Linked DNA regions of Homo sapiens: all the other regions are linked to region 3. Evidence: promoter capture Hi-C in 16 types of primary human blood cells and fetal thymus (Javierre and others, 2016). All regions are on one chromosome and are shown on one strand. Each heading gives the region's core, a stretch centred on a gene start or on the middle of the fragment in contact. The rest is flanking DNA. Distances are from core to core; before and after follow the strand shown.

What was found. Contacts are between HindIII fragments. The CHiCAGO score rates a contact against its expected background, and 5 or more counts as called.
Region 1: a fragment that was not itself captured here is called in contact with the fragment with the promoter of CEP76 in region 3 in 1 of 17 cell types (neutrophils); the score reaches 6.1 in neutrophils.
Region 2: a contact is called between a fragment that was not itself captured here and the fragment with the promoter of CEP76 in region 3, in 1 of 17 cell types (monocytes). The highest score is 5.0, in monocytes.
Region 4: a contact is called between a fragment that was not itself captured here and the fragment with the promoter of CEP76 in region 3, in 1 of 17 cell types (M2 macrophages). The highest score is 5.7, in M2 macrophages.
Region 5: a fragment that was not itself captured here is called in contact with the fragment with the promoter of CEP76 in region 3 in 1 of 17 cell types (naive CD8 T cells); the score reaches 5.2 in naive CD8 T cells.
Region 6: a contact is called between a fragment that was not itself captured here and the fragment with the promoter of CEP76 in region 3, in 4 of 17 cell types (monocytes, M0 macrophages, erythroblasts and 1 more). The highest score is 7.0, in monocytes.
Region 7: a contact is called between a fragment that was not itself captured here and the fragment with the promoter of CEP76 in region 3, in 1 of 17 cell types (neutrophils). The highest score is 5.1, in neutrophils.

What each region holds. Positions count from the first base shown.
Region 1 is chr18:13,120,853-13,123,937 of GRCh38, forward strand. The region is part of intron 44 of CEP192 (centrosomal protein 192); the gene reads left to right. Among named protein-coding and RNA genes, the nearest start is that of LDLRAD4, 96 kb to the right of the region's middle. The HindIII fragment of the contact is 4,916 bases long and covers 1-3,085 here.
Region 2 is chr18:12,310,555-12,313,421 of GRCh38, forward strand. TUBB6 (tubulin beta 6 class V) reads left to right here. Exons shown (of 4, transcript NM_032525.3): 3 at 389-499. Among named protein-coding and RNA genes, the nearest start is that of TUBB6, 3.7 kb to the left of the region's middle. The HindIII fragment of the contact is 5,042 bases long and covers 1-2,867 here.
Region 3 is chr18:12,701,244-12,704,120 of GRCh38, forward strand. CEP76 (centrosomal protein 76) reads right to left here and starts at 1,480. Exons shown (of 12, transcript NM_024899.4): 1 at 1,243-1,480. The coding sequence starts at 1,305. PSMG2 (proteasome assembly chaperone 2) reads left to right here and starts at 1,799. Exons shown (of 7, transcript NM_020232.5): 1 at 1,799-1,921. The coding sequence starts at 1,865. RefSeq lists enhancers at 625-1,522, 808-1,107, 1,118-1,167. The HindIII fragment of the contact is 2,487 bases long and covers 1-2,485 here.
Region 4 is chr18:13,091,303-13,094,155 of GRCh38, forward strand. CEP192 (centrosomal protein 192) reads left to right here. Exons shown (of 45, transcript NM_032142.4): 34 at 1,075-1,225. Among named protein-coding and RNA genes, the nearest start is that of CEP192, 100 kb to the left of the region's middle. The HindIII fragment of the contact is 1,528 bases long and covers 699-2,226 here.
Region 5 is chr18:13,142,874-13,145,751 of GRCh38, forward strand. No RefSeq gene overlaps it. Among named protein-coding and RNA genes, the nearest start is that of LDLRAD4, 74 kb to the right of the region's middle. The HindIII fragment of the contact is 1,435 bases long and covers 798-2,232 here.
Region 6 is chr18:12,327,817-12,330,759 of GRCh38, forward strand. It overlaps AFG3L2 (AFG3 like matrix AAA peptidase subunit 2), which reads right to left. Exons shown (of 17, transcript NM_006796.3): 17 at 1,128-1,967. The coding sequence ends at 1,749. It also overlaps a transcript of TUBB6 not described here. Among named protein-coding and RNA genes, the nearest start is that of TUBB6, 21 kb to the left of the region's middle. RefSeq lists an enhancer at 1-599 and a silencer at 134-428. The HindIII fragment of the contact is 3,564 bases long and covers 1-2,943 here.
Region 7 is chr18:13,159,432-13,162,485 of GRCh38, forward strand. No RefSeq gene overlaps it. Among named protein-coding and RNA genes, the nearest start is that of LDLRAD4, 58 kb to the right of the region's middle. The HindIII fragment of the contact is 9,792 bases long and covers 1-3,054 here.

The DNA of each region.
Region 1 (3,085 bases), core at 132-2,631, 420 kb after region 3:
AGCACTAATTCTGTGATCTGTTTAACTAAATGAACTAAACTCTGGGTTATAGGAAACTTTATTTTACGCAAAGAAAGGTGGAAACACTGGCTCCTTTGTAACAGAGAATGACCTGTGTTGACCTTGGAGAAGCAGCAGGACAGTAGAGGCAGATACCACAGGAACCCCAGTGACAGTTCTTACCACAGAACTGAAGTCATGGGGACTTACGGCATTGTGTGCTATTGTATTTGTCCCAGACACGAGACACTGTGACTTTAGACAAAGGTTCACAATACATAATTGCCAGATGAGAGCAGCAGTTAGCTTGCCTTGGCAGTGCAACAAAATCTGTGTTCTTAAAGCCCTGAGAAGCAATTCCCAGCCTTTAGTTAATCACATTTTTCATTTGTTAGATCACTGTGTGCTCTATGACACCATTAACTACACATTTCCAAAGCAATAATAGGATTGTAGTCATCTGTAGGGTACAGGAGATGATTACTTACAAATATGCACTTTTTCCAAGGCCACCGGAAGGCCTGGTGGGGCTGCTCTCCGAAAGCTCCAGCACTAGCACAGGAAAGTGGCTGCTCCTTACAGGCTGTAAGCTGATTCTAGCTTAAGGAGGCAGAAGAGTTCCCCCAAGAAGGTACAGGGGTTTTGCTCAGTGCAGAGGTGGGTGAACACGAATGTATGATAGATTATAAGTAAGGTTATAGGGAAAAGGAAACATTACTAACAGGTTTTCTTGTAAAGGTTCTTTTTTGAGGGTTCTGAGAGATCATCTCTTTCTTATATCTTTTTTAAAAGAATTTATGTTTCTACTTAGTCCCCAAAAGCATCTTTCTCTTAACCTATTATTTTATGACCATCTAACCCCAGCTGAGGTGTTGTAGCTAATAGGTTCCACCTCAACTGTGCCCTCATGTCCTTGCACAGTGCAAGGTGCACAATCCTGGCAGACCCTGCATGTCATTTGGGAGAGAAGGACAGTTCCTAGAAAAGTGACAAGCCAAGGAATAGAGTTATCATTGAGCTGCAGTGACTTCTCACCCATGTGTGGGAACAAATTTTATTACCTTTTTCAGTTTCTTTGATAATGGTGGTACCTTGTATGTGCTAGTGTACTGGCTTTTTTTCTGTGGAAACTGTTCCTTTAAAAAAATGTTTTGGGCCGGGCATGGTGGCCCATGCCTGTGATCCCAACATTTTGGGAGGCCAAGACGGGCGGGTCATCTGAGGTCAGGAGTTCAAGATCAGCCTGGCCAACATGTGAAACCCTGTCTCTACTAAAAATGCAAAAAGCAGGCCAGGCGCGGTGGCTCATGCCTGTAATCCCAGCACTTTGGGAGGCGGAGGCGGGTGAATCACGAGGTCAAGAGATCAAGACCATCCTGGCCAACATGGTGAAACCCCGTCTCTACTAAAAATACAAAAATTAGCTGGGCAAGGTGGCGCATGTCTGTAATCCTAGCTACTCAGGAGGCTGAGGCAGAAGAATCGCTTGAACTTGGGAGGCACAGGTTGCAGTGAGCCGAGATCGTGCCACTGCACTCCAGCCTGGCAAAAGAGCGAGACACCGTCTCAAAAAAACAAAGTAGCCGGGCCTGGTGGCATATGCCTGTAGTCCCAGCTACTCAGGAGGTTGAGGCAGGAGAATGGCTTGAACCAGGGAAACAGAGGTTGCAGTGAGCTGAGATCGTGCCACTGCACTCCAGCTTGGGCGACAGAGCGAGAATCCGTCTGAAAAAAAAAAATGTTTTGAAAGGAAGGAAGGAAGTGTGGTTGCTAGAATTTGTAGGTTCCACTAAGCCCTTTCCATGTAGATGGGGCCTGCAGGGAGTTGGGGGCTGAGTGTGCACAGCCTGATGGCCTCTCTGCTCCCTAGATGCATTTCTGCTCTGCGTGCCTTTGCAATTACATCTATCATTAGCTAGAGAGAGGATCTGAACTAGACCTCCCCACTGGGTTCAGAGGACTTTCCTGCTACCTTTTCCCGTGTGTGTGTGTGTGTGTGTGTGTGTGTAGAGATTAAATTAGTTCTCAATAATAGTATTACAAAGTACTTTTTAAAATATATCCATCTTGCTGGGAGTGTTCTATAGCTGTATTAAATGTTGTGGTTCTTTCTAAATTGCATTCCATTTTATTCAGTGTATCTGTAAATCTAAAGCAGATGATATATTTTTAATCACAATATACTTAAATTTTCAGGTTAATATAGAACAATTCTATATTCTGTGATGAAATTTATTAATAATGAGTTCTTCCAGAGATTTTTTTGGGGCTATTTTATTATTTTTACTAATTCATAAGTTATAAAGCCTCTTAAATAGGCAAATGGTACTATATTTATCCAAGTATTGACCACCAACATGCAAGAGAAAATTGTAGCTAATGCCATGGGCCAGGTTAGATTTTTTTTAAAAAGTACATTATCTTTGACATGGTAAAACAAATGTAATGCATTTGGGGAAAATAACCCAGACTTTAAATAAAAACATATAGAGATACACATACACACCTTTGCTCTATATAGATATATTTAAGAACATACACTATTTGTGTTATCAGTTATATCCAGGAAAAGGGCTTTGAAATACTGAAGCTGTTTTCTAAACCTCATGCCCGGTGTACTCTTGTGCACCCAAGAGCGACACTGCTGGGATTTTCAGGACAGATGCTGGAAACCGAAACGTACATCACTTCTGGTTGCCAGTCTTTAAAACACACAGCTCTGAGACGAGACTAAGGGGTGAAGTACCTTCCCTGTGAGCTCAGAACTTTCACTTAAAAACGCCTAAGCCTAGACGTTGATGACATCACATGGGCTGTGTGTAATGTGTTTGTAGCCTCATTCACACTGTGAATAACTTGTTAAATTGCATATTTTGAGGTGTATTTTGAAGCTCTTAGGACATAGTTTTAGGGACAAAAACAAACCCCCTAGAATACTGTTTTTAACCATAGGGCACTTGTTACCTGCCTCTATATACTGTAATCTGAAAGTAAAGTTTCTAGAATATTTTTGATGAAAGTTTCCGGCCGGGCATGGTGGCTCATGCCTGTAATCCTAGCACTTTGGGAAGCCAAGGCGGGTGGA
Region 2 (2,867 bases), core at 111-2,610, 390 kb before region 3:
AGTCTTGACCTCCTGGGTTCAGATGATCCTGCCACCTCAGCTTCCAGAGTAGCTAGGACTAGAGGTGCACACTACCACACTTAGCTAATTTTCTTGGTTTTTTGTTTGTTTGTTTTTAGAAACAGGGTTTTGCTCTGTTGCCCAGGCTGGTCTTGAACTCCTGGGCTCAAGCGATCTGCCCACCTCAGCCTCCCAATGTGCTGAGATTACAGGGATGAGCCAGTGCGCCCAGCCAATTCTGTGATTCTAAGAAAGTTCCTGTACCCTTTCTGAAAAGACCCTGGTTGATCCATTCCAGGCAGCTAGAACTGGTGGGACTTGAAACGGGGAAGTCAATTACTTTAGAAACCTGAAAGTAACTCTTGTGGGTGGTTCTTTTCTCCTCCAGCTCAGAAATATGTGCCCAGGGCCGCCCTGGTGGACTTAGAGCCAGGCACCATGGACAGCGTGCGGTCTGGGCCTTTTGGGCAGCTTTTCCGGCCTGACAACTTCATCTTTGGTAGGTTCCATCTTTCTCACTTTCTTCTTCTTCTTTTATTTTTTTAAATCAAATATTTTATATGCCAGATTTAAAGCATCATGTGTCATAGAAAAAGTGTGAATGGAAATCAGTGGTTCCCAGCCCCACCCCTCCCATCCCTAGCTGGGTTCATCACAAGGAACAGTTTTTTTTAAATCTTGACTTTTTTGGTGGGAAGGAACCTCTATATCTCTAAATGAAATTCTTCTACTGGTAGTTCTTGATTAAAAAACAAAAATCAAGCCAGGCGCGGTGGCTCATGCCTGTAATCCCACCACTTTGGGAGGCCAAGACGAGCGGATCACGAGGTCAGGAGATCAAGACCATCCTGGCTGACACGGTGAAACCCTGTCTCTACTAAAAATACAAAAAATTAGCCGGGCATGGTGGCACGTGCCTGTAGTCCCAGCTACTCGGGAGGCTGAGGCAGGAGAATCGCTGGAACCCGGGAGGTAGAGGTTGCAGTGAGCTGAGATTGCACTACTGCACTCCAACCTGGGTGACAGAGCGAGACTCCATCTCAAAAATAGCAAAAAACAAAAAAACAAAAACCAAGAAACAATTTTAGACATTAGCTTCTTTTTCCCCATCATTATAAAGTTATTTTGCCATTTGTTTTTGGTTCCTATATTGGTTTTATCAGAATTAGGTAAATCCTTTTTTTCTTGCTTCTTCCACCTAAAAAATGATAGTAAAACATATCTTTCTGCAGACTTCTGAAGAAAATTATATAAAATTACATGAAGTGGTACCATTAGTGTTATCAAGTAGAACCTACAGGATAGGTGGCAGATTTGGAAGTTTCCCACCTATTTTAATGTTAGAGACCACATATCTATTGACATTATTGCTAAAAAAAAAAATTCCTCACTCAATCAAACATATTTCCAATACCTGTGAAAAGCAGTGTCTTCCAAGAAAATGTGAAGAATTTGAAGACTGATTCTGGCTTAAAAGCACTATGGTGTAGGAATCAAATACATCATGAAAAATCTACATTCTAACCCCTTTCTCAAAAGGCACCAGGAAGAGATAGTTTAATAGAGGGTAACAGACAATCCCATTATCCAAACCATTCCAGAGAGAAAATGATGGAAAACTTCCCAACATTTCCTATGAGGCTAGGTAGCTTCTACTAGAACATACAAGTGAAAGCTGTATATCAAACTTACTTAAAAATATAGATGCAAAAATCCAAAATAAAATACTTAGAATATCAAATGTAGTTGTGTTTTTTAAAAAATATATTAATAGCACATTGTGACCAAGTAAGACTGAGAGGCAGACAGTGTAATGGTTAGGAGTCTGGCTGTGCTGCCAGACTCCCTGGGTTTAAATTTTGGCCCTTCCACTCACTATGTGGCCTTAGACTTATTTAACTTACTTGTGACTTAATTTCCTCATCACAAGTGGGACTGTCTACCTCTTAGTGAGATGTAAGGATTAAATAAACACTTAGAATGTCTAGTACAAAATAAGTGTTTGAGAAATACTAGCAACATCCCAGGAATGCAAGGATGGTTCAACATTAAGAAGTCTACTAATAGATTAAAGACAACATCTTAATAGATGACCCAAAAAAGTGGGTTTTTTTTCTGACTCCCAGCAGGAAACAATTTTTTAAAAAAGATTAAAGTTTTGGAAGCCAGGAGCAGTAGCTAACGCCTGTAATCCCAGCACTTTGGGAGGCCAAGGCGGGCGGATCACCTGAGGTCGGGAGTTTGAGACCAGCCTGACCAACATGGAGAAACCCCATCTCTACTAAAAATACAAAATTAGCCCAGTGTGGTGGCACATGCCTGTAATCCCAGCTACTCGGGAGGCTGAGGCAGGAGAATCACTTGAACCCAGCAGGCGGAGGTTGGGGTGAACCAAGATCGCACCATTGCACTCCAGCCTGGGCAACAAGAGTGAAATTCTATCTCAAAAAAAAAAAAAAAAAGATAAAGTTTTGGATGTGTTCCTGATTTGTAGAGGACAAAAAAACTTCTATGTAAGCTGGAAGTAGAAAGAAACTTCCTTTATTTACAGATTATCTACCAGAAACCCATAGCAACATTACACTCCCTGGTGAAACAGAAGCATTTCCAGCAGAATTAGGTATAAGAAACAGATGTCCATTGTCTCTACAATTATTCCATGTTCTGAAGGCTTTAGCCAGTGCACAAAAACCAGAGAAAGAAAAAATGCAAATCATGTAAAGGAAAAGACAAAAGTGTTATTTGTTGATGAAATGATTCTCTTGGAGTTTCCAGATAGGCTATCAGCTGAAAAATGACTAGCACTTACAAGACTTCAGTAAGGGAGCCAGACACAAGATAAAATATTCAGAAATTAATAGTTTTGC
Region 3 (2,877 bases), core at 230-2,729:
CTTTTAAAGAATGAATCTTTTGAGTACAAATTCTAGAAATAGTCTCCACTGGTTATCTGGCACCTTTGTTACCATTTCTCCACAAACAACACTCAACCAAAAGGAATCTTCTGAGAGGGAGTATAGTATAATCAGAAGAACACGGACTGGGAGTAGGCAGATCAAAGTATGATCTTATTACTTTCATACTTTGATCTGCCTAATGATAAGGGAATCTTACCAGCTTTCAACTTAGTAGATGTGTAACCTCAAGCCAACTTATTTACCCTTTATAAATCTGTTTCGTCACCGATAAGAATGGAAAAACCTAGTGTAGTGCCCTCTCACGATAGTGTTGTGAGGATTAAAGATACTAGACAGCACAAAGCCTGGCACACAAGGGCACCATAAATGGTCGCTTTTATCACTTCAGCATCTTGCACTCAGTCGAGCGAGCGCTGCAGAAACTGGAGGTTCTTCTGGAGCTCCGAAATATTAACAAATTCCGTCATTACAAACCCTTTAGTAACTTCTCTTCCATGACTTATTTGAGAATTGCTGATTGAAGCTCCTGGTTCAACTTCGCTGATACCCACATGTTTCAGCGGTAAAGAAACCCTGATATCTGCCGGGCGCGGAGGCTCACGCCTGTAATCCCAGCACTTTAGGAGGCCGAGGCGGCCGGATCACGAAGTCAGGAGTTCGGGACCAGCCACACCAACATGGTGAAACCGTCTCTACTAAAAATACAAAAATTAGCCGAGCGTGGTGGCGCGCGCCTGTAATCCCAGCTACTCGGGAGGCTGAGGCGGAGAATCGCTTAAACCTGGGAGGCGGAGGTTGCAGTGAGCCGAGATCGTGCCACTGCACTCCAGCCTGGGCAACAGAGAGACTCCGTCTCAAGAAAGAAAAAAAACCTGATATCTTACAGCAGAATATAAACCTCCAAATACAACTTACACTCGATCCGACTTCCAGAAGTCGCTCGCTAAGCGCTTCATTCTCACGGCCGTCCTAAAACGCCAAGACCGCTCGTTCTATCGCCCCAGACTCTTGCTAGCACCTGCTCGGCTCGTTTTCTTTCTCGGAGACGAGGACGCTCTCCTGCCTCAAACTCAAAGCTCTGCCTACTCTGCGTTGCGCACCCCACAATCCTCGCTACAGTCCCGGCAAGCAGATGCCGCTGTCGGCCCGGGGCCGCCGGGCAGGAGGGAAAGGTTATGGGTCGGCCCGGCGGTCTCTCCCAGCACCCGCGACTCTCACCTTGCTCAGCTGCTGGTGGATGAGCTGCTTCAGCTCGGAGGCTTTCTCCGGAGGCAGCGACATGCTGGCAGCCGGCGTCTCCCCGCCGCTTCTCCCCGCCTCAGATGCCCTAACTGCGCGGCCCCGGCCGGGCCAGGGAGCGTTAGGAGCGACTGGAGCACAAAGCGCCGCAGCCGTTCGCCTAGCGCAGCTCCCGGGGGACGCAACGCCGCGTCAGGCCGGGGGCTGACCTGGAAATGAGGCCCCGGCGGCGGCGGCGCCAACTGTTTTCAAACAGTGGCGGACAAACAGGGCTTGGGGCTGGCCCGCACGCTGCCTGATCGTTTCCGCCCGCCGCTCCACCTCCCCGCGGGCCCCGCACCCCGAGACCTCAGCGCACCCCATCGCCTTGCTTGCCAGGGTCTCCGAAAGCGCTGCTGGCCCCTCTTCGCGGCCACCCGGCGGCCTCTTTCCGCCCTCTGAACCGGCAGTTAGCTGGACGGGCCTCAAGGGCCCGGCGCCCAGGGACTCAAAGGACCCTCCCGCGCCCCGCGAGGCTCCGGGGTCTCGGGCTTCCGCCTTCTTGCTGCCCTCGTTCTTGCCAGGGCCGCGGTTAGTCCCTGCTGGCCACCCCACTGCGACCATGTTCGTTCCCTGCGGGGAGTCGGCCCCCGACCTTGCCGGCTTCACCCTCCTAATGGTGAGTCTCCATTTGCGCTCGGGGCTGCCGCCTCCCGAGGCCCCTGCGGTGTCGCCACCCCGACGCGGGGTGTTTGGCGGTGCCTTGGGAGAAATAGGGCACTAGTTTCTATTTCATGTTTTCGGCCGGAAAAAACAGGGAGGTTGTAGCCGGAGGCAGCCGTCCAAACAGAACCTTTGTCGGCTGTAAAACCAAACGTAGTCAAGTCTACAATTTGTAGTCTCTGTTTCCTGTAAAACGTGATGTGTTCGTACGTTCTAGATACACTGTACTTATGTTTTGCAGGGCATCCTTCAGTTTTATCCTAGAAAGTCTTTCTACGACTAGTTTTAGAATTAGTCTTAAGCTAGCATATTATCGTTGTTAACCGGAGAACTACTGATAGGGCAATAAACATTAACTCTTGCCGGTAGTTAGCGCAGTTTTATCGCTCTTTATATTCATTCATTGTTTTAATAAAGTCTGTTATGTGCGAGTATTAGAATAAGACTAGGTGCGTGCCCTCAAAGAATTTACACTGTAGTTGGAAACATGTAATCTAAGAGCAATAAATGCTAGGCTAGAAGCTTGAAAGGGTATAGAAAGGTCCTGAGATAATTGGGAGGGGAGGGACAGATGGCTTGTTAAGAAAGGCTTTATAGAGAAAGTAGTATGCAAAAGATGGAGGGCCCGTGGGCTGGGAGTAGGGGAAAGTAGGCGTTTCAGAAAGATGGATGTCTAAAACAGAGTCAGTAAGCAGGGGGACTTGAAGACTGCCAAGAATTTGGAATGACACATTGAGAGAGAATAGGCTGTAGGCCCTGTGAACCCAGAAGGCACCATTGGAAAATGCACTGTTTGGAGTGGTATAAGGCTGGAGAGAGCTGGAAGTGTCATCCTTATTCATTACATATAAAACACACAGCCCCAGAGAAGAGTGTTTCAAAAAGGAGGGAGTGGCCATGTCAAAAGTAGCC
Region 4 (2,853 bases), core at 213-2,712, 390 kb after region 3:
AAGATTGCCCATCTAAGGTGGGGTTGAGCTAGGACTCAGGCCAGGTCTTTGGGACACCAGAATTTCACCTCAAGGAATACTATATTCCTTGTGATTATAAGTTTATTGCCCAGAGGAATGGAGGAAACAGTTTCACTTTTTCATGTTGGTTGGTACCATAGATCACCTGGAGTATAATGCAGTTGAAGCTTTTATGTGATGAATTTCAGTAACATTTGCTTGAGCATGTTACTATTCCAAGGATTTGTAACAATCTTGCTTTTACAAAATGTGTAATTTGTGGCATGTATTTTTGTAGTTGATTTAAACTTTTTCAGTCAGGAGTCTTGCTTAAGTTATAAATTTAAATTTATAGTTACTGTGTTCTTTTAAAATTTCCATGTCAAAATATATGACTCAAAGACTATCTAATTTAACATTTCTTGTTTATACAAATTTGGGTGTCCTAATCTAGAGATGTTTATCTTGAACACTCTTTCATTAATCTATAAATATTTAATTAAATGAATAGTTCTAGTTTCTAGATTTACTTTAAATTGAATGTCTATGAGACTGCCACTTAAAAATCATGGACCCTTAATTTCTGTGCTTCAGATTTTTCCTCTTTGCAGTAGAGGTAATAGTACCTATCTCAAAGAATTGTTTTGAAAATTAACTAAATTAATATATATAAAGGGATTAGAACAATGTCCACATTAAGCTTCATATAAATGTTTGTTGCCGAATATATCTACAAAGGCATTCTTATTTTAATGCTCACAACCCCTGATACAGATCGTTACTCTATATTATAGTTGGGGAAACTAAGTTCAGGGAGGTTAAGTAACTTGCCAAAAGTCACAAAGTAAATGAGTGGCAAAGGTAGTTCAAATTCAGGTTCCAAGTCTGAGCTGTCAGCCACTGGTGCTGAATTGACTGTAATTTTGTGCCAGGTGGTATACTGCTAATCCAAATGTCACCTCCCCCAACCCAGGAAACTAATATTCTATAGCTATAAATATACAAATGTATCTGTTACTTTGTGGTATGCTTGTGTGAACATTCATGTATTTCAAACATTATTTTCTATTTCAGTATATGATCTTCCCCAACGACCTAATGATGTTCAGCTCTTTTATGGAAGCATGTGTAAAATTATACTTTCAGTAATTGGAGAATTCAGAGATTGCATTTCTAGCAGAGAATTCCTTCAGCCTTCTTCCAAAGCTAGCTTGGAATCTACAAGGTAAAATAAATGAACAGAAATCTTTCACCAGATTTCAGGATGATTCGATTCATAGCAAAGCTGATCTTTTTTCCTGTACTTCACTATTATTATTATTTTGTCTCAAAATTTTTATTTCACCTTTATTTTAAAATTTAAGTTGAAATAATTTCAAACTTTCAGGAAAGTTTAGAAATAGTGCAGAGAACTCCCATATACTCTGCACTCAGACTCACCGTTGTTAACAGTTTACCACCTTTACCTTATCATCCTCTATTTGTATGGAAGGTTTTTCTGGACCACGTAAGAGTAAGTTTCAGGCATGATAACCAATTAGCCCTAAATTTCCTAAAAACACTCTCCTACGGCCAGGTATGGTGGCTCTTGCATGTAATCCCAGCACTTTGGGAGGCCAAGGCAGGCGGATCACGAGGTCAGGAGATCGAGATCATCCTGGCTAACACAGTGAAACCCCGTCTCTACTAAAAATACAAAAAAAAAAGTTAGCCAGGCGTGGTGGTGGGCACCTGTAGTCCCAGCTACTGGGGAGGCTGAGGTAGGAGAATGGTGTGAACCCAGGAGGCAGAGCTTGCAGTGAGCCAAGATGGGGACATTGCATTCCAGCCTGGGCAATAGCAAGACTCTGTCTCAAAAACAAAACAAAACAAAAAAACACTCTCCTGCATAGCCATGGAAAACTCATCCAAATTAGGACATTTAATAGCAATACACTACAATCATTTAGTCCACAGGTTCCATCCACATGTTATTGTTTGTTCCAATAATGTCCTTTATGTTATAGTTAAATGACAAAACAACAACAAAAATAACCTTCCTCTTTGCTGCTTCCTCTCTGGTCCGGAGTGTAATCTAACATCACATGATGCATTTGGTTATCCTATCTGCTTACTCTCTTTCAGAATAGAGTTCCTTAGCCTTTCCTTATCTTTCCTGACTGAGATGATACAGAAGGTTCAATTATTGTATCAGATCCACAGAATCAAAGACTTCATCCAGAATTAAGCTTACTAGTAATTTTAGGTGAAGCCTGGAGAAGTCTGGGACTGGCAGTGGTGCTTCCTAGGTCCTTTTGGCAGCATTAATACTTGAGCTCTTGTTCAGATTTGACACAAGGTCTCTAAATTGTTCATGTGCTACATGGCTTACCCGAAATGAAGAGCTATATTGAGCATGAAAGTTCTGTTTTGTACTTTGGTAATTACATAACTTATGTGGTAATTTTTCAAATAACTGCATCCCATAAAATCGGAAGCTTCAGGTTTCTTTACCGCAAATAATTCTAGACAGAGCAGATACATCTTGCAAAAAGCATTCCATAGATAAGGACATTAGTGTGTGTGCTAGGAGATCTGTCATTAGCAAGATCACCGGGAGATTTCACCAAATCACCTTTCTTTTTTCTTGAGCATTCCCTGGTAAAAAGGAGAAAATAGATTGCAGGCCAATTGCTAACTCTTTCTTACCAATGACCTTGATGTTTTTATGGAGTCCAGGCCAGTTACTTTGTAAAATATCCCGCAATTTCAGTTTGCAGATTCAATTTTCACACTTTTGGTAGGAATGATGCTGTTTGTTTTCTTGGTGCATCTTCTCAGGCAGTGTACAGTGCTGATTTGTCCTATCACTAA
Region 5 (2,878 bases), core at 265-2,764, 440 kb after region 3:
TCAGCTTCCAACAGACAAACACAGTCAGAGCTCCCTTTTTAGAGTCCCTCCTGTGTAAACACACAGGGCATACAGGCATGACTTCCAGGAGCTTCACTGCAGCATGGCATGCACAGATAACACAACAGAAGTGACCTCAGTGCTGCTTTTGGAGGACAGATGACACGCATCTTGGTTCATGCAACTCAACACCGCACACATGTAAAATAGAATGAGTAGCTTTGTGTTGTGATATAAAAATGTAAGCTATATTATTGAGTGAAAAGCCAAATTGCCCACCAGTATGCAAAGCAGATTTACTCTTATTAGAAATGGAGGCTGAGCATGGTGGCTCACGCCTGTAATCCTAGCACATCAGGAGGCCAAGGCGGGTGGATTGCTTGAGGCCAGGAGTTTGAGATCAACCTGGGCAACACGGCAAAACTCCATCTCTACAAAAAATACAAAAATTAGCCTGGCCCAGTGGTGCATGCCTGTAGTCCCAGCTACTTGGGAGGCTGGGATAGGAGTATCAATTGAATACAGGATGTGGAGGCTGCAATGAACCAGGATCACACCACTGAACTCCATCCAGTCTGGGTGACAGCAAGATCCTGCCAAAAAAAAAAAAAAAAATCTAGCAGAGGACAGAGGAGTGTATACAGATAAACAAATGCATATTGTGTTTGCATCCCCTATATTAGTTTTCTATTGTTGCATAACAAATGATTACCCAAACACCAGGGGTTTGGTCTAGGTCCTGCTGCTCACAGCACAGAAAGCCAGTCATCAAGACAACCAGTATTGGCAGGGAAGAAAGCTTTAATCGGGTGCTGCAGCTGAAGAGATGGGAATTCAGTCTCAAGTCCGTCTCTCTGACTATCTAAAATTGGGAGTTTATATAGAAGGGAAGAAATGTAACTACATGCAGGAAAACAGTAATTAGGGAAGAATGAGGAAGAGGAGTTGGTCAACAGGCAGCAGGTGGTGCTCAGGCAATCATGAGGGTTGAGGGCCTGGCCACTCATCCTCCAGAGGCTGTGAGCTTGTAAGTTTCAGCTCCTTGATACTACCTGGGAGTCCTGATGGTCGGTTTCCTGAGAAAGGAACTCAGATAAGACAAATGTAACTTTCTCAAGTTTTAAGACTGAGAGGGTCAATTTCTATGTTTATTCAAAAGAAATGATAAACATCAGTTTTATGGGACAATTGGTCAGGTTTCAAAACTACCACAAACTCAGTGGCTGAAAATAATGCCTGCCTTTTTCTCACAGTTCTGTAGGTCAGAAGCCAGCACTGCCTGGCGGATTCTCTGCTCATGGTCTCAGGAGGCTGAAATCGAGGTGTCAGTCAGCTACATTCTCATCTGCAGCTTGGAATCCTCTTCCAAACTCATTCAGTATTTGGCAGCATTCAATTTCTTCTTGGCCATCAGCCAGGAGTCCCTGTCTCCTCCTAGAGGTTTCCCAGCTTCTTCAGCAGATCACAACATAGATGCGTCCTTTCCTGGTTGGTATCTGTGGGGGATTGGTCCTGGGTTCCTGGGACCTGTGCAGATAGCAAAATCAGCAGGTTCTCCTGACCTGCAGTCGGCCCTGCAGAACCCGTGGGTAGGAAGAGGCAGCATCCACTCTCCAGATCTGCGGGTTCTGCATTCCACAAATACTGTATTTTTGGTAAGTAGTTGGTTTAATCCATGCATGTGGAACCGTGGATATGAAGAGCTGACTGGGCTTGCTTTCTTCCAGACCAGCAGAGTGCATCAAACTCCAGGCTTCAAAGGGCTCATCTGAATAGGTCAGACCCACCCTTGATGATCCCTCTTTTGCTATAAAATGTGACATGATCAAAGGAGTGACATCTGATTCTACTTACAGGTCCATCCTCAAAATCTCAAAGGACCCCAAATAGCCAAAGCAATCTTGTAGGGAAAAAAAAAACTGGAGGCCTTACACATTCTGATTTCAAAACATATTGCAAAGCTATAGTGATCAAAACAGTATGATACTGGCATAAAGACAGAATAGAGTCCAGAAATAAACCCTCACATATATTGTCAAATAATCTTTGACAAGGCTACACAGTGAGGAAAGATAATCTCCTCAACAAATGTTGTTGGGGAAACAGGATATCCACATGCAAAAGAATGAATTTGGGCTCTTACCTTATACCATATACAAAAGTTACCTCAAAATGGACAAAATCCTAAATGTAAGATCCCAAACTGTAAAACCCTGAAAGGAAAGGGGAAAAAGCTTTATGGCATTGGAATTGGCGTTGATTTCTTGACTGTCACACCAAAACAGAAAATAGACAAATGGGACTATGTCAAACTTAAAAACTTCTGTGTGACAAAGGAAACAGTCAACATGGTGAAAAGGCAACCCACAGAATGAAAGAACACATTTGCCAGTCATTTATCTGATAACACGTTAATATCCAGAATTTATAAAGAACTCCTACAACTCAACAACAACAAAAAAACAAACATGCTGATTAAAAACTAGATAAAAGACTTTAATAGACATTTCTCCAAATAAGATACACAAATTGCCCACAAACGTATGAAAAGATGTGCAACATCATCATTAATCACCAGGGAAATGCAAATCAAAACCACAGTGGGATATCATCTCATGCCCATTAGGATGATCACTATACAAAATAAAAATAAAAAAAAAAACTAAAAAAAAAAAAAGTTTTGCTGAGGATATGGAGAAATTGGAAACCTGCATTGCTGCTGGGAATAAAAATGGTGAATGTTTTAGTCCATTTTTTGTGGCTATGAAGGAATACCTGAGGTTGAGGTTGGGTAATTTATAAAGAGAAAAGGTTTATTCGATTCACAATTCTGGATGGCTGGAAAGTGCAAAGCTGGGCATCTGCATCTGGTGAGGGC
Region 6 (2,943 bases), core at 54-2,553, 370 kb before region 3:
GTGGGCCCCACTCTCGTCCCCCGGGAGGTCTCACAGCCAAGGCCTGTGAGAGGGCAGCCCACGCTGGCTCCATGCCTTGCAGTGGTTGGATAAGGAGTAGAGAGCGTCTCCTAATCGTCTACTGCCTGTATGGTAAAAAGCACACCCAGCACCCTCACAACTGTGTGAGCCTCAGCCTGGAAACAATGCTTCATTGGGCACCTCCCAAAAACACCCTATGAGGAAAGGAAGTGGCCAGTGTGGCAATGCCTGCAGGTGCAAAGGTCCAGCAGGGGGCGCCTGTTCTCCTGGCATGCTGAGCTGTGGAGTCCAAACAGCTGCTTCCACGGCCTGCCGGGGACAGGTGGGTATCTCAGGCTGCTGGGAAGTAGCCATGGGTGGAGCATGCATGGCCTGGGGCCATGGCAGGGATGCCACTAGATTGTGTTAATTCTAAAGCCACTGTTCCGACAACATCAACACCACACAAGGCAAGCTGGAATAATGCTAAAACAGACTGCTAAAAATGTAAATAGTTAAAAATGCCAGTGTCTCCTCCATGTCCAAATAACAGCAATTGATAGAAGACATAGCAAATCTTCCTCATGCCATCTTTTTTAAGGAATTTTGATATAGGTTTGCAACACTACAGACTCACTTTTCTGGAAGCACATAACCAATAACTCCCTTTCAATAGACAATAGGAGCAGCTTACCAGTCAGACCACTCCTGAGATGTCCCCAGAGAGCCAGGGCCCAGGGGACTCCAGCTTAGTTCCACTGTTCCTTCTCTAAAATCCAGGTGACGGCTCAGGTCAGCCTGCCAGGCCCGCTACAGTTATACGTTAACTTCTATACCCAGAAGGTGTGGCCAACATCTGGCCATGACTGGCCTCTTGAGGACCTGCACTGGGGTGGTTATCACAGATTCAGGCCATGACTAACCCCTCAGGACCCATGTACTTTATATCCAGAGCTCAGTGCATCTTTACAGGACACATAACTCTAGAAGGTTCCAACCTCCTGTGGGAGCTAATGAGAACCAGCGAGGCTGAGATTTTGAAGGATTCTCCTCTAAAAAGCAAGAAAATTTAATTTCTTGCCATTATGTTTTCTAAAAATATCCAGAGCATAAATAGGGACCCTATGTGTGTTCAGAAAAGTACAGTGTTGACATTTTATTTTTTATGTAAAGAAGCCATATTTACATAATACATTCATATTTTTAAGTATGTTACAGCTCCTGTAGAAAACCATTCCATTAAGACAGCAACAAGTGATCTGGATTCAATCTTTAAAATATTAAGTCAAATTAAAATGTTCTTATCAAGACTCCAATTTAATTTCACAGCCCATCTGCACAGGGGAACTGAGGAGAAACAGGAATGAAGAGTGGGCGACAAAGAGAAAGCATCCCTTCCCACACGCCAAGAGTCCAGTGCAACGATCCCTGCCACACGGTCAGCCGACCCCACTTGGTGCCACAGGGTCCAGCCTCGGCCACTCTGGGCTCAACCTTTCCAGCACGTCTGGGAGCCCAATGAGGCTATGGGACAGTGTGCATTTCCCTCAAGGCCTCCGGAAAGTCACCTGCCACCCACTGTGACCTCTGAGGCTGAAAGGACTAAGGACTCCTTTCCCCATCATTTCAGCTGGGCCAGTGGCTGGCTAAAATCAGCGCAGCATTCCCATTCTTCTGAAAGCCACAGCTGAAATAATGCACCAGCTGAAACCACAGTGGACAGACTGAGATGGCCTCCCTCTGGGCCTCTAGTTGGCAACTTTCTCACCCGGGGGCTCCTCTTTCTCCTTTTCCCGCTCCTTGTTCCAGTCCTTAAGGCCTTCTGGAAGTGAGGTGTCCTCATCCAAGCTGCCAGTGCCTTCCACAAATTCTTCATAGGTAGATTTTTCCGCAAATGGTCTGGGGCCCAAAAGTTCAACCATATCATTCTTATCTAATACTTCTTTTTCTAACAACAGAAGAGCAACCTGAAATATGAACAATTTTCATTAAATACAGTTACTCAGCAAAGTCTATTCAGAAATATTAATTTTTTATTTACAGGTGACCCCATTCCAAAAAAGGATTTAAGACCAATGAAAAAGATGTCTCATACATAAGGTTGCATAGTTTTAGAGTAAGATGTGCAAAATATCAAAGCAACCAATGTCCATCTGTAAGGGATACATTTCCATACTAGACATATTTCCACACATCTGCACAATGAATGCTGACCATCTATAATGAGGAGGAAGCTGGCCGGGCGCGGTAGCTCGCGCCTGTAATCCTAGCACTTTGGGAGGCCGAGGCGGGTGGATCACAAGGTCAAGACCATCCTGGCCAACAGGGTGAAACCGTGTCTCTACTAAAAATGCAAAAAAATAGCTGGGCATGGTGGTGTGCGCCTGTAGTCCCAGCTACTTGGGAGGCTGAGGCAGGAGGATCACTTGAACCCGGGAGGCGGAGGTTGCAGTGAGCCAAGATTGTGCCACTGCACTCCAGCCTGGGCGACAGAGCGAGACTCCTTCTCAAAACAAACAAACAAAAAAAAATAGGAGGAGGCTGTGTATGTTCTATATACATCTCAGAGATACACACTTCAATTAAAAAAACAAGATGTTCAGTGTGCACAGCATCTTACGTTTGCTTTTCTGAGGTGATAAGAATGTATCTTTTTATGTGCATTAAAGCAGAATAGGCAGCCAAGTGCAGTGGCTCACACCTGTAATCCCAGCACTTTGGGAGGCCGAGGTGGGCGGATCACCTGAGGTCCGAAGTTCGACACCAGCCTGGCCAAAATGGCAAAACCCCGTCTCTACTAAAAATACAAAAATTAGCCAGGCGCAGTGGTGGGTGCCTGTAAGCCCAGCTACTCAGGAGGCCGAGGCAGGAGAATGGCTTGAACCCAGGAGGCAGAGGTTGCAGTGAGCCGAGATCGCGCCATTGCACTCCAGCAGCCTGGGC
Region 7 (3,054 bases), core at 133-2,632, 460 kb after region 3:
AACCATGTTTTCTTGCTTCTCCATGGGTCTTACTATTTTATGCCGTGATTTGTGCATTTGGAAAACCAGCCACCTATGGCAGTCTTTTAGGACTAACTTGATAAAGGGAAAACTTTCACCAATCATCTGGGTTGGAGATTCCAGAAGCCTCTCAAACCTTTGGGATGTGTTCTCTCTGGGCGTGTGCATGTCATTTCCCAGTTAGAGGGGTTTTCTGGTTTCTTTTTCTGGAGCTTGTAATCTCTTACTCCCTCTGGTGTCTGTACGAAGTATTGCAGGTTCTTTGGAGCTGCAAGAAGCCACTGAGCTCTTTTGTTCTCTGTGGCTCCCAGGATATCCAAAGTATATCAGCTCCATCAGTGATCCAATTCAAGTGAGACAAAAACCGTTGCCTCAGGCAGCCCCTGAAAATTAGACTGTTGGACACATGCTCCAGTCTTCTCTTTTTCCCTTGACGGAGAAGCTGTGAACGGGGTGCTTTCTGCTGATTGTGCTGCTTTGAGGAATGGCTTTTGGGGTTGAAATAAAATGGCTTTTGTTACCTTTTTCAAAGTGGCTGTTCTGGCTTTGAGTTTGCCTGGGGTGCTGCCACTTCTTAAATGGTTTCTGGAGTTCTCATGCAGACTTTTTGGACCATATATTGTTAAGTCAGTGTCTTGGGAGGAATGACACTTGAGGCGTCTTATTCCACCATGTTGGTGATGCCACTTCCTTGTGGTGACTTATATGACAGCAATAGAAAACAAATATGAGCGTCACAGGGAAGCAGTGAATAAAATTCACATGGTGAAGAGCTAGAGGACCACTGCTTCTAAGGAGTCATGTCCTTCGCAGGCCTGAGCCTCATCCCCTTCCTTCACTGTGAACAGAGAAATCGGCCAATTGCCAAACATACACTGAGTGTCTCTCTTGCATAAAGTGCTGCTGACCAGTGTTCTAGGGGTCCCAGTCTATGCGTTCTGGCGGTGGCACTCTTGTTGGGGATGCAAAGGGTCCCCAGTTGTTGCAGTCACTGGGTGAGAGGTGTCCCAATGTGGGGATGAAGGAAGGGCCTGTGGCCTGATGCAGGCAGGGGAGGCACCATCGGAGGGCAGGGCTTGAGCCAGCTGCTGGGGGACTCCAACAGTGCAGGAATGGGAGGAATATTCCAGGGCGGGATGCGAGAATAGGAAGTGATGTGTGTGTGTGGCAGGGGTGGTAAAATATACACCTCATACATTTACCATTCTAACCATTTGTTTTTTTGTCTTTTTTTGAGACGGAGTCTCGCTCTGTTGCCCAGGCTGGAGTGCAGTGGCAACATCTCGGCTCACTGCAAACTCCGCCTCCCGGGTTCATGCCATTCTCCTGCCTCAGCCTCCCGAGTAGCTGGGACTACAGGCGCCTGCCACCGCGCCTGGCTAATTTTTGTATTTTTAGTAGAGACGGGGTTTCACCATGTTAGCCAGGATGGTCTCGATCTCCTGACCTCGTGATCTGCCCGTCTCGGCCTCCCAAAGTGCTGGGATTATAGGTGTGAGCCACTGCGCCCAGCCCATTCTAACCATTTTTAAGTGTCCAGTTCAGTGGTGTGAAGTGAGATGTGTTTTTGAGTAGGAAGTGGTTTATTTTGGCAAGGGTAATCCAGGGTTGGCTCTTTCAATGGCTAAAGGACTAAAATCCTCTCAGAGAAAAAAGTAAAAGGGCTGCTTACCAGGCAGTAAATCCTTAAACAAGTGTGCATTGCTTACAGTATTGGCTAAGGAGATGATAATTTGACTTGAATAATCTTGCAAAGTGAGATGAGATCCCCACTTCCCAGATAAGGAAGCTGAAGGTCTGATTAAGTGACCTGCTCCAGTTGCACAGGAGGTGGGGGCATATCCAGTACCAGAGCCCAGGTCTCTACATCCTTCCTCTAGGCCTCTTTTCTCTCCCCCTTGATGGCTGGCCTGCCCCCTAGACCGACTGTTTCTTGGTCTGTGTACAAAAGTACCTTCCGAGGAGAATGCAGGGTGCCAGAGGTTAGCGGCAGGGAACAGCAGTGTTTGGACTCCAAGCTACGGGAGCCACGCATTCTGTCCTCAGGGTATCACCACCCCATTCTAGACACCAATGAGGACAGGGCTTAGCATGTCGAGACGAGGGGTTTGAATTTCATGTTTGTGTGCGTTCCGTTTGTTGGGAGGCACTGTCCCTTCAGTGTTGTCATTCATAGTGACACCCTCTGCATGGTGCTGGTTGCCAGAGGCAACCTGGAGCCCTGGAGTCAGCATGTCACCGTTGGCACATGGTGCATGGGGAATCACAGAGAGAGTGAGCTGCCTGCTGGCTCAAATACCCTGAGTCATAAAAAGGTCTCAAGAATAGATCTTGGGTGTCCGGGGGATGCGTGGCTGTTCTGTAAGAGCTGAGATGACCTCGAAGCCTTGTGAGCACGGGCTCCTTGGGACCCCTTTGTGGAACCATGCAGCGGGACGTGAAGTCAGCCTTTCCTTGGAGCCTGACCCTCTCAGCTCCAAGCAGCCTCCCCATGGCAGTGTACTCAGGTCTGTCTGTCCAGTCATAGTGGGAACCCTGGCTTTGAAGGGGGTGCAGAGTCCACGTGGCCCAGATCTCTCCCTAGGGAAATAATCCCCTCCCTGCCTCCCACGGGGGTCTTGGCCTTTGGCCAAATAGTCCCAGGAGTGAGAGACCCACTTTTGGAAGGCAAGCATTTTTTATGTTGGGTGATAGCTATTATCTATCATCACCATCCTCTTCTCCGCCTCCACCTCTTCCTCCCACCCCCCAGACAGCCAGCACCACCCCGTGCCTTGCAGCGCTGAAGGCTCTGCCTAAATCACACATCCCAGGAGGTGGAGGCAGTGGGGAGGGCTGAGGGTGGGACCTGGGTCCCCCACCTGTCGGGCTTTGTGCCCTGGCATCACTGCTATTTAAGCAGCTTTCTCCCACACGCAGACCCCATGCACCTGCCTGGAACCGAGGTCATCAGTTCCAGCTTGGTCCCCACAGCCACCAGGAATTGCAGGTGTTAAGAGAAGCCCAGAGAGAGTTAGGATTTCGTCCCAGCTT